2 separate regions of the Homo sapiens genome follow, and region 2 is linked to region 1. Evidence: promoter capture Hi-C in human tissues and cell types (Jung and others, 2019). All regions are on one chromosome and are shown on one strand. The core of a region is centred on a gene start or on the middle of the fragment in contact, and the rest is flanking DNA. Distances in the headings are between cores, read along the strand shown.

The links. The method cuts DNA at HindIII sites, captures the fragments that hold promoters and counts their contacts. A contact is called where the count stands out against the background at its distance.
Region 2: a fragment that was not itself captured here is called in contact with the fragment with the promoter of ANKS1B in region 1 in 1 of the 25 tissues and cell types used here (dorsolateral prefrontal cortex).

The regions. Positions count from the first base shown.
Region 1 is chr12:99,981,361-99,986,706 of GRCh38, reverse strand. ANKS1B (ankyrin repeat and sterile alpha motif domain containing 1B) reads left to right here and starts at 1,771. Exons shown (of 27, transcript NM_001352186.2): 1 at 1,771-2,603. The coding sequence starts at 2,470. RefSeq lists a silencer at 1,749-1,798 and an enhancer at 1,911-2,741. The HindIII fragment of the contact is 20,528 bases long and covers 1-5,346 here.
Region 2 is chr12:99,819,160-99,824,906 of GRCh38, reverse strand. All of the region lies in intron 2 of ANKS1B (ankyrin repeat and sterile alpha motif domain containing 1B), which reads left to right. Among named protein-coding and RNA genes, the nearest start is that of ANKS1B, 160 kb to the left of the region's middle. The HindIII fragment of the contact is 7,470 bases long and covers 108-5,747 here.

The sequences.
Region 1 (5,346 bases), core at 522-3,021:
TGCCCGAACTGTGGAACTGATTCTTAGAGTAAATCATTACTAATGGTTTTCCCATTGGGGGTGGGGGCTGCATGATTTCGATAAGATGACTCGGGGCCTGCGGTCACCAACTCATCCATGATTAAATGTTGCTTGTGAAAACTGTGGGTGATTTTCAGTTCTGACCAATTGAATACTTACAGTATATTCTGGGAAAGGTGTGTTTTGCTTAGGTGGCAACATTAGGAAAAAGGAAGAAGGATTTCCCTATGCCATTTTCAAAATGAATGTGATGGCTCCTTATCTCGTTTCTTTCATTGGTCTGCTAGTCCCATTATGTCAGGGATTATATTATTATAACATAGATTATCTTATTAAAACAGATTCTAACACAGAAAACAAAATCAAAATGAATTAAAAAACTACACTAGCCAAAATCTACATACTTCAGGAAACCTCCAATAAATAGCCATAATTTACCTAATATTTTGAATCATTGAAATGAAATCTCAGAACACAATGAATTCCATAAAAATGTTTTAATATACTCTTGTTATTTATCTCTAAATGCCTTTTAAGTTTCCCCCAGTTATTTATTGAAAATCTTTGCCTACAGCAGACAGTGCCGGATTTGAGCCTTGGCTCAGTTACTTTCTATCCCTATTATCTTGCGGGTAATCAGTTTCTTCATCTCCAAAATAGAGATGAAAATGGTCCTATCTCATGCGATTGTTGCAAGGCTTAATGAGAACATGGAAAGCACTTAGCATAGTGTCTGGTATGTAGCAACTACTCATCAAATGCATGCAATAATTATTGTCTGTCCATTTCGCTTTTCCATGGGGGGCAGGAACGTATATTGGGAAGCACATGGTGTCTGGAGTGAGTCTGTTCTGGGGTCTAGTTCTGAGTCAGCCACTTACTCCATGTGGCATCTTGAGAAATTTAATTAACCATTTGAGCCCTATTTCCTCATTTCTAAAATGGATATAATAATATCCAGTTCACTGGGTTGTTGTAAGCACAGTGCCTATTAAGTCCTCTTCTTACCAATCAATTATCAACAAGTGAACATTTATGAAGTCTATTCCAAGGACAATGCAAAGCACAAGGTGTAACAGGAAGTTTTAATAGAAAATAAACGCGCGTTCTCCACCACGGCCAAGGAGAGCATCTAACAAGTCATGCCAACCATGCACAATGAATTGCTGATGATATATGCAAATTAAAGTGGATCTCTAATCCATGCCCATTTATATTTTTCGAGTGTAGATGTGGATAAATTTTCAATGAGAGCCTTTTTCCTGGTATTCTTACAAGTCAGCAGATCTCCAAAGCCCAACTAAAATATGGGCTGATTAAAGACTCCAGAAAAACTGAAACAGTCGCAAACTGCTCGGTGGCCAGTGCCACAGAAACTAGGACGAAACGAGCCTCTTCTTTCTAACCAAGGGCAGATCTCAGGCTCTCTTGGGGAGGTAAAGCGGAAGGGTGAAATGCCGGTCAAGTTGCCTAGACTCTGATGGAAGCGGTGGCCAAAGGGCCCCTCCCCAGTGTCACCAGCCTCCCCATTCCTGTCACGGAGGATTTTCCTCAGGCGTCGTGACAGACCCGAGGCGTGTTGCCGGGGCCCGCCGGGCCGAGGAGGAGCCGACGCGGCCCGGGGAACTCCAGTCCTCACACGGTTAACGCTCTTCCAAGGAGAGTGGAGGAGGGAGGGTCCCCGCCCACGAGAACGAAGAGAATCTCAGGGCCGAAGCCCCGCCTCAGCCGGCCCGGCCCCTCCCCGCCAGCCCGCCACCCAACTCGGGCCGCACCAGGGGCCGCACCTGCCCGCGCGCACACGCCCCCCGCGCGCCAGGCCTCGCCGCCGCCGCCGCCCTCGGCACGCGCCCGCTGCGGCTGCCCCCCACCGCCCTGCCTCGGCGCGGGCCACAGCGCACGAGCCGCCGCCGCCGCCGCCGCGCTCCTCCCCGCCGCGGACGCCGCCCCCGCGTAACCGCCGAGGAAGCCGAGGCGAGCCCGGGTCGGGCGCGAGGGCGCGCGGGCCGCTGCTGCCACCGCGGGTGTTCCCTGCGCTCCCGCTCCAGCTAGGACTCTCTCTGCCGCCTCCTCCTCCTCCTCCGACCTCAGTCCTCACCACCCTCCTCCCGCTCCTCAAAAGCACCCCCGAGTCCCCACCCCCTCACGCCGCACCCGCGGGAACGAGGCCTTGGGAATTCAGGGGAGTGGCTGTGGGGGCGCGTCGCGGCTCCCAGCTCGGCCAGCCCCTCTTTCAAGACATGGTCTGATCCCCATTGTAAAAGCTGCGCCCCGAAGAGGAGGAGAGAGTCGTGCTCCCTGCCTGGGGCTGCAGGGAGCTCTCCGTGCTGAAGCTCTTGCATTATTTTAGGGTGGGGCGAAGAGGGCCCTGGATTTTGGGGAGTGGGGGTGGGTGGGGAGGAGGACCCGAGGGGGGCAAGGACTCTGTGGGGGAGTCGGTGAGAGACTATGGGGAAGGACCAGGAGCTGCTGGAAGCTGCTCGCACTGGAAATGTGGCTCTGGTGGAGAAACTCCTGTCTGGCAGGAAAGGAGGGATCCTGGGCGGTGGATCCGGACCCCTGCCCCTGTCTAATCTGCTAAGGTAAGGACGGGCACCAGCTCCGGGGTTGGCACACCTCATTATGCATTGTGATGGATATACGTCCTCCTCCTCACGGTTATTGCACCTGGTGGCTGCCAGCGATTCATTCTTAAATTAGGTAGGAAAACAGACTGCGTGTATGGAGAGGAGGTATGAGCCTCCCAGTCAGATTGATGCCTTAGATTCTTTGAGTAATTTTAAAATAGCCTTCCATCAATGCGTCAGTAAGCTACTTTTCCTCTGAGCCCTGGTGCAGAACTTGTACATGTACTAGTGTTGCTTGAAGAAAATCGACGTTCCGCCCGCTTTCCATCAACATTTATTACATATTTGCAGCTTTGAACGCAGCCTTTTTTGTCTAGTTAAATGAAATTGGCAGAGAATCTCTTGCGTGCATGCAATTACCCTGCAAAAGCCACAGCCTTCGGTGGCTCCTACCTTCTCTTGCAGAAGGCGTTTGCTGTGCCGTGGGTTATGATCCCACAAAATGAAGTGAGTGAACCTTCTTTCTGGTGAGATGTCTTCAGCACAGGGTGTGTATAAAACTTGATGGGGCAGGTTAGGCAGCCCCAGCAATACTTTCAGTTACCTGGACATAGCTGAGTGAAACTTGGTTGTTATAGCTCAGGATGAAGGATGCCAGGTTGGTATTGGGATACTGTATATGGAGTACGGTAGAGGCCTTTTAACGTGAAGATGTCGTAGGTGAGACTGGTATTGCTTGGAGAATCTTTCTAAGATGACATTTAAAAAAAATGTCAAGGTCTTCATTCAGCAGTACCTTGGAAATAGCGGGGTTGATTTCCATACTTGAGAAACTATTAAAAGTTGTATTGATGGACAAATGAAATCAACTGGGAGGGAGGAAGCCTGGAGAGTATTCACTAGATACAATTCAAGGGAAGCTCTTTAGTTTCTAAAATCGTGGCTATCCAATTTATCCTGGGTATTTTTGGAGTCATCAATTGTCATTCATATCTTCGCCTTAAAACATCTCTTGGATAACCCAACTATAGTTGTAAAAATTTTAGAAAGCCCAAGTGATTTCCCTGGTTTTTTAAAAACTGTTCCATGCTACCCTTGACAAGTGCTTAATAGAAACTTTTGGGTGATGACATTGCGTTCTTTACACAAGTTCTCATAGGTTGTGGTGGTCAGACAGTGCAATTAATTATAGGGCTAGCTAAAAGGGAAAATGGAAAGTTTCTATTACAGTGAAATAAATTGAGTTGAAAAATAGTCGATGGGATTTTAAAAAGCCCCATATGTTATTCTATATACTCGTTGACAGTGACATTTTATTGGAATGATAGTTCATGTCAGAAGAATGAATATTTATGGGACATTTTTTCAATAGGTCATAGAGATGACTTGTGTGTACTCCCTTGTTAAATAATCTTCTCTTTCAAACACAGGTAGACAATGTGTGCATATTTCAGATTGCAGCTCTAATAATTGCCTGTAGTCACATGTAGTTTATGTGAAAGCAATTTATCTCTTTACAGTTTTAAGTTACACGTAAAATAACAACGTTTGCTGTGGATCCATCAGTTATAAAAATGATTATGTCTAAAAACTGGTATGCTGAAAGAATTTTCTCAAAATAAACAATTTCTTCGGGAAAACATGAGGAATTATTTGAGAACAGTGAGAATTTCACTTAATTTTATTGTGATAAATCGTATTTTAAAAACACTCCTTGTGACAAAACTCAAAAGCAAACATCCTTTAAATACTCCTTTCCCAGCTGTGATTTTTTTTTTTTTTTTTAAAGAATAGATGTCAAGTTTTAGGGATAAAACACCAAGTATTTAATGTTAGTGGACACTAAAGTATCAAAATAGTGACCCACAGTGTATATCTTGAGTGAGAGGTTTTCTCTTTTGCTGGTGTAGTAGTAGTAGTAGTAGCTCTACAACAAAGATTGCACATAGAAAACAAAAGTAAACAACATGTGTTTATTAGAGTACTTCGAACCAAGTTGTAAAAATCACAAACAAAACCAATAACCTTTAAACTTGCTTTTATCCATCTTATACTGAATAGTGTCTGAAGAAAATGAGAGTTGAAATTGTATTCTTTGGGCAATCATTTGCATAAAATGACATTCCTAAGAAGGCACATTTTATTTAGTTGTCACTTTATTTCAAAAATGATTGTCATCAGAAATTTATTGGCAGGATAATGGAAAATGTGTCCCCCGTCAAACATAATGACACTTTGAAATTTCTTAATGTTTTAGAAGGAACTGTAGAATATGTTTGGCACTTTTTCCCCGCTTGCTTTATTACCTGGGTTGTGTAATAATGGTGTCAGACCCTATGCTAAGTGCTTACACGTGTCATCTCATTCAATTCTTGTGTCAGCCTTAGGAGGTCCATTGTCATTTCACAGATGAAGGAATAAAAAGATAAGATTAAGGACTTGCCCATGGTCACTTAATTAATAATGGCAAAGATTTGAAAATCTGTGATTCAGATTTGTTTTACAACATTTTAAGTCTCATTCATTGAATCTGTTTTATTCACAAAAGTTTAAAGGTATGTGGCCAATTTAGACAGGCCAATCTGAACATTTTTTGCTATGAAGAATAATTTGAAATTCCTTAAATTTTGGTATTTTTTTCTAATTAAAAAAATCTCACAACTGCCCTTTGAGGGTTCACTAGACAAGAACTTTTCTGAAGATGCTTCTGATTACTTGTTATCTACTGGTAATAAGAAATTATCCTTTCAACAGTAAC
Region 2 (5,747 bases), core at 2,593-5,092, 160 kb after region 1:
CTGAGCCCTGGTCACTTATATGAACCACTTCAGAATCCTTATTTAGCTAAAATGTTTTATCTTTGTCATTCATGATTGTCTTTCTAGTTTTAGATTTGCCAACCCTAAATTTTTTTAATAAGTAAAACTGTTTCAAATAATGTAATAGTATATGTTATGGAGAGTGCAAGAGTGTGTAGCCGTAACAATCTCTATTTCCAGTATTTTAGCTAGGTATCCTAATGGTTTAGTGACAGAGTTAAAGTGTGATGAGTCCTCCAAATGATTCAGATGTTCTGTCCTCCCCTACAGAAAAAAAATGACCCTCTTCCTTTATCTCCCCCTCGTCTCTGTTTTCCCTTTGTGTGAATGATCCAAGTTAGTTTTCCCAGATCTGTATCATTTCATTTCACTTTTTTTTTTTTTTTGAGACAGAGTCTCACTCCTTCGCCCAGGCTGGAGTGCAGTGGCACAATCGTGGCTCACTGCAACCTCCGCCTCCTGGATTCAAGTTATTCTCCTGCCTCTGCCTCCTGAGTAGCTAGGATTACAGATGCCCACCACCACGCCTGGCCAATTTTTGTATTTTTAGTAGAGACGGGGTTTCACCATGTTGATCAGGCTGGTCTTCAACTCCTGACCTCGTGATCTGCCCGCCTTGGCCTCCCAAAGTGCCGATTGTGAGCTACCACGCCTGGCCCTCACTTTAGTCTTTTAGATGTGGTAATTACTGCTTTAAAAGTGCTAGTTACAATCTACAGATTCCGTACTATTCCTATCAAATTACTAATGTCATTTTTCACAGAACTAGGAAAAAACTATTCTAAAATTCATTTTGAATTTAAAAAAAGAGCTCAAATAGCCAAAGCAATCCTAAGCAAAAAGAGCAAAGCCAGAGGCATCATGATAGCAGATTTCAAACTATTCCATAAGGCTACAGTATTAACTAAAACAGCATGGTACTGGTACAAAAACAGACACATAGACCAATAAACAGGTTAGAGAACCCAGAAATAAAGCCATACACCTATAGCCATCTGGTATTCAACAAAATTGATAACAAATAAGCAATGGAGAAAGGACTCCCTCTTCAATAAATAGTGCTAGGATAGCTGGATAACCATATGCAGAAGACTGGAACTGGACCTTAACCTTTCACCATATACAAAAATTATCTCAAGGTAGATTGAAGATTTAAATGTAAGATCTCAAACTATAAGAATCTTAGAGGAAAACCTTGGAAACACCATTCTGGACATAGAACTGGGCAAATACTTCACGATAGAGACTTCAAAAGCAATTGCAACAGAAAGAAACATTGAGGCCAGGTGCAGTGGCTCATGCCTGTAATCCCAGCACTTTGGGAGGCCGAAGCAGGTGGATAGCTTGAGGCCAGAAGTTTGAGACCAGCCTGACCAATGTGGCAAAACCCTGTCTCTACTAAAATTACAAAAATTAGCTGGGCACGATGATATGTGCCTGTAATCCCAGCTACTCAGGAGGCTGAGGCAGGAGAATCGCTTGAACCCTGGAGGCAGAGGTTGCAGCGAGCAGAGATCTCATGACTGCACTCCAGCCTGGGTGACTGTCTCAAAAATAAATAAATAAATAGATAAAATTGACAAGTGGGACCTAATTTCATTAAACTAAAGCACTTCTGCACAGCAAGAGAAACTATCAATAAACAAACTATAGAATGGGAGAAAATATTCATAAACTATGCATCTACCAAAGGCCAAATATTCAGAATCTATAAGGAATTTAAAGAATTCAACAAGCAAAAACCAAATAATCCCATTAAAAAGTACTCAGAAGACGTGAACAGACACTTCTTAAAAGAAGATATACAAGTGGCCAACAAGTGTATGAAAAAATGCTCAACATCACTAATCGTCAGAGAAATGCAAATCAAAACCACAGAGAAACCATTTCACACCAGTCAGAATGGCTATTATTAAAAAGTCAAAAAATGACAAATGTTGGCATCTTTTATAGAGTGAAGAGAGTGCTTATTCACTGTTGGTGGGAATGTAAAAATTAGTTCAGTCTCTGTGGAAAGCAGTTTGGAGATTTCTCAAAGAACTTAAAACAGAACTACCATTCTACCCAGCATTCCCATTACAGGGTATAAATCCAAAAGAAAGTAAATTGTTCTATCAAAAAGACACAAGCACCTGCATGCTCATTGCAGCACTATTCACAATAGCAAAGACATGGAATCAATTGAAGTGCCAATCAGTGGTGGATTGGATAAAGAAAATGTAGTACATATGCACCATGGAATACTATGCAGCTATGAAAAGAATGAAATTGTGTCCTTTGCAACAACAGATGCAGCTAGAAGCTATTATTCTAAGTGAATTAATGGAAGAACAGCAAATCAAATACTGCATGTTCTCACTTATAAGTGGGAACTTAATACTGGCTACTTGTGGACATAAAGATGGCAATGATAGAAACTGGAGACCACTAGAGGGGGTAGGGAGGGTTGAAAAACTATTGGGTACTATCCTCAGTATCAAGGTGATGGGATAAATTGTATCCCAAACCTCAGCATCATACAATATATCCCCTGAATCTAAAATAAAAGTTGCACATGTGTCCCCTGAATCTAAAATAAAAGTTGAAATTATTTTTTAAAAAGTAGAAATGGTAGTTACCTTTTGTTTTTTCACCTAACATTTCTTTTATTCTGTGAATGGTGACTCAAGGGTCTTCTTCATACTTAATCTTAGGTTTGGTGGTCATAAAGCTCTTAATGCAAGACATTTTTTTTGTCATTATTGATCACTGACATTTTTCTCTTAAAATGTATAAATTTAATGCCATCAGCCTGTTTAGAGAATCATTTGAGTTACATAAACTATTATAAACTTTGTTTCATTATTTAGATTTTTAGAATTGGAATTCCCAAATTGTATTTATTTTTATTCAGTTCCTATTCTATATTGTCTTATATCATCTCATTTAGAAATATTTTGCCATATCTTCTAATTTTTTCTCTTCCTTTATAGAATGGAAAGTATGTCCAGATATCTAAATATTTTAAAGGAGAATGTTGTTATTCTTTTTTTACCTGAGTCACCAGGAACAAAGACAAATCAGCCCAAGTAATATAATCCTGATGGCTTCTTGGCTATCTGAATTATGGATTCAGGCTACTATCATATTTTTTAGTTCTAATTGGGAAGATAAACTCTATTACATCTAATGGGCAGGATATCTTGGGCCTGACCTTTCATTTGAGGCATACTACTTTTCTTGTTCTTTCTCAGATTGGCATTGGTAGGTAAGCACTTCTTAAAGTAATATTGTCCCAAAATGGATTAGCATTCATATCCCTCCTTCATTTTCAGTGAAGTATTTAGTAAATGCTGATTTATACATGACAGTCTATGAAGTTCTAACTGTTGAGATATGTTTTTCTATGGCCCATGGCATAATTTTTTTTTTTTTTGGTGATTTAGAAAATAAAGATAATTTAAGCAAATTGAATAGCAATCATTAAGATTCTCACAAACAGATAATTTGATTAGCTATTTTTAAAGATCCCTTTAATTACAGATAGTCTGTGGGAATTATATGTCTGTGCTTTTGTCTGAAAGATCTCATTTATCTTTTCTTTTTAATTTTCAGTGTCATCCTATAGGCATTGGAAAAAGCAGGAAGATTCTAACCCCATCTCCCCATCTCTGCTAGTTGTGTGACCTTGAACCATTTACTTAACATCTGTAGGCCTCAGTTCAATAGCTTGAATAGATTGGCTTGATATTCTCCATTGTTTCTTACAATGATAACATTGAATGATACACTGTGTTGGTATTATTTATGGCTCAGTTATGCACTATGATGCTACAGTTCTGAAATTGGGAATTTCATATAGAGTGTATGTTTCTTGATTTTGCAAGTTTAAATAATCTATGAACTTGTACAGTTAGAGATCACTTTTTCTACCTGACACCCCTCAGCTCCCTCATTTTATAGATGGAGAAACAATGCCCATTTAGTTAAGTGACTTAATGGCCACATAGATATTAAAGTGGGGTTGTGTCTAGAGCTTAAGTGTTCTGGTTCTAAGTCTATGCTTTTACCAGTACTCTGCATTATCTCCCCTTTGTTGTTAAACTCTCCCTGGCTCTTCTCTGTCACATTATATATTTCTGGCCTGCCTCCCATAATCATTTGTCATATGTTTACATGGAATGCTAATTTTAATATTGGCTTAAAAGATATTTGAGGGAGAAAATAATGTCATAGACTGTATCTCAGAGCCAGAGAAGAAGGTTATTTCTTTTATTTGCATTCTCACTTAGCAGAGGTAACTAACAATGATTATATTGTATTCTTCCCAAGCAAGCCTTAGCAGTCTGCACAGAAACACATCATTTCCATGTTTGTCGCTGTTGTTGTATCCATCTGCTCTAGATTTTTTCCATAAACATTATAATTGGTAGGCTAAAGTTCATAGAATCATAAAGCCAGCAGTAATGTTTCGGGATCATATAGTTTATTCTTTTGCTTTGAACACAAACTGTCCCCCTACCCCCAACATAAAATCTAAAGCCTTCATACTGAAAATTAAACCAGTTTCCCCAATTTTGTACATTTTCATTGGGAGCCATTGTTTATCAATGCTAGTTAATCCACAAATGAAGCAGCATTTTGTACCTGAAATGCATTATTTCATATTCATCTTCAATTAGCCAGATCAGGACACAATGGAAAATGTACTCTACTGGTGATTTCTTGGGTTATTTGTAATCACAGATTAGAAAATTATTACCATCAAATGATAGGAAAAAATCATGGTTAATAAAACAAAATTTACTGCAAGTATTATAAATTATTTCCATAGATAGAGTAGAGAGCTATTTCTTTGTATCTTTTTCTCTTTTTAAAATATGGAGGATTCATTGTCACATGTATTTCTACTGCAAATTCAAATCCCTTAATTCTCCTCTGAAAAGCAATTGGCTGGCCTGACTACCTGCCTTCCTCTCTACCTTCCTTCCCTGCCTCCCACTTCTTCTCATCCCTTTTTTTCTTGTTCTCCTCTGCTTTCCTTAGTCCCCTCATTCCTTTTTCCTTTACTTTTCCTTCTTTCTGACTTTTCTCCTCTCTTCTTTTCATCCATTATTTTTAGTAATAATCTTATCTTTCCCTGTGAGGTTATATTAAACCTGTATACTCATATTTCAATTCAATTTTTCTTCTCTACTTAACAAATAGTTCCTTATTTTCTTCTTAAGTTTAATGTTATTAAACTATATTTGGTATATTGTGACACTTGCATGCTGTTTTGAAAAATATCAGCAGATCGTTATTGTATTTCTGAAATATGTATATTGTTTTATATACACATAAGATATTTTCTATTCTTCTACCTTTTAAAGTATTTAATGCATGCTAGATCTCATTATCTGTAATCCAGATTGCGTATCAAATTGGATCTAGAATCCATATAATAAGCTATCTGTATGATTTGATCTTTCTTAGGTTTTCTAATAAAAGAGGCATACCTCCTCTAAAAATTGTATAATCTGGTCTCTGAAGTTGCTCTTTGAATAACTAGAAACATCTTTAGTCATCTTGCTTTTTTTCCTGGATAAGGATACAGACTACTTAAAATTTGCCTTTATTCACTCTGTAATCTAGAAATCTATGAGAGTGAATTCAACATGTAAAGAAACTTCAGTTAGAAAATGGGACGTATTGTCCTGAAATCTTTTGACCATCTTGAACACATCTGCAACTTTATTCCCATTAAA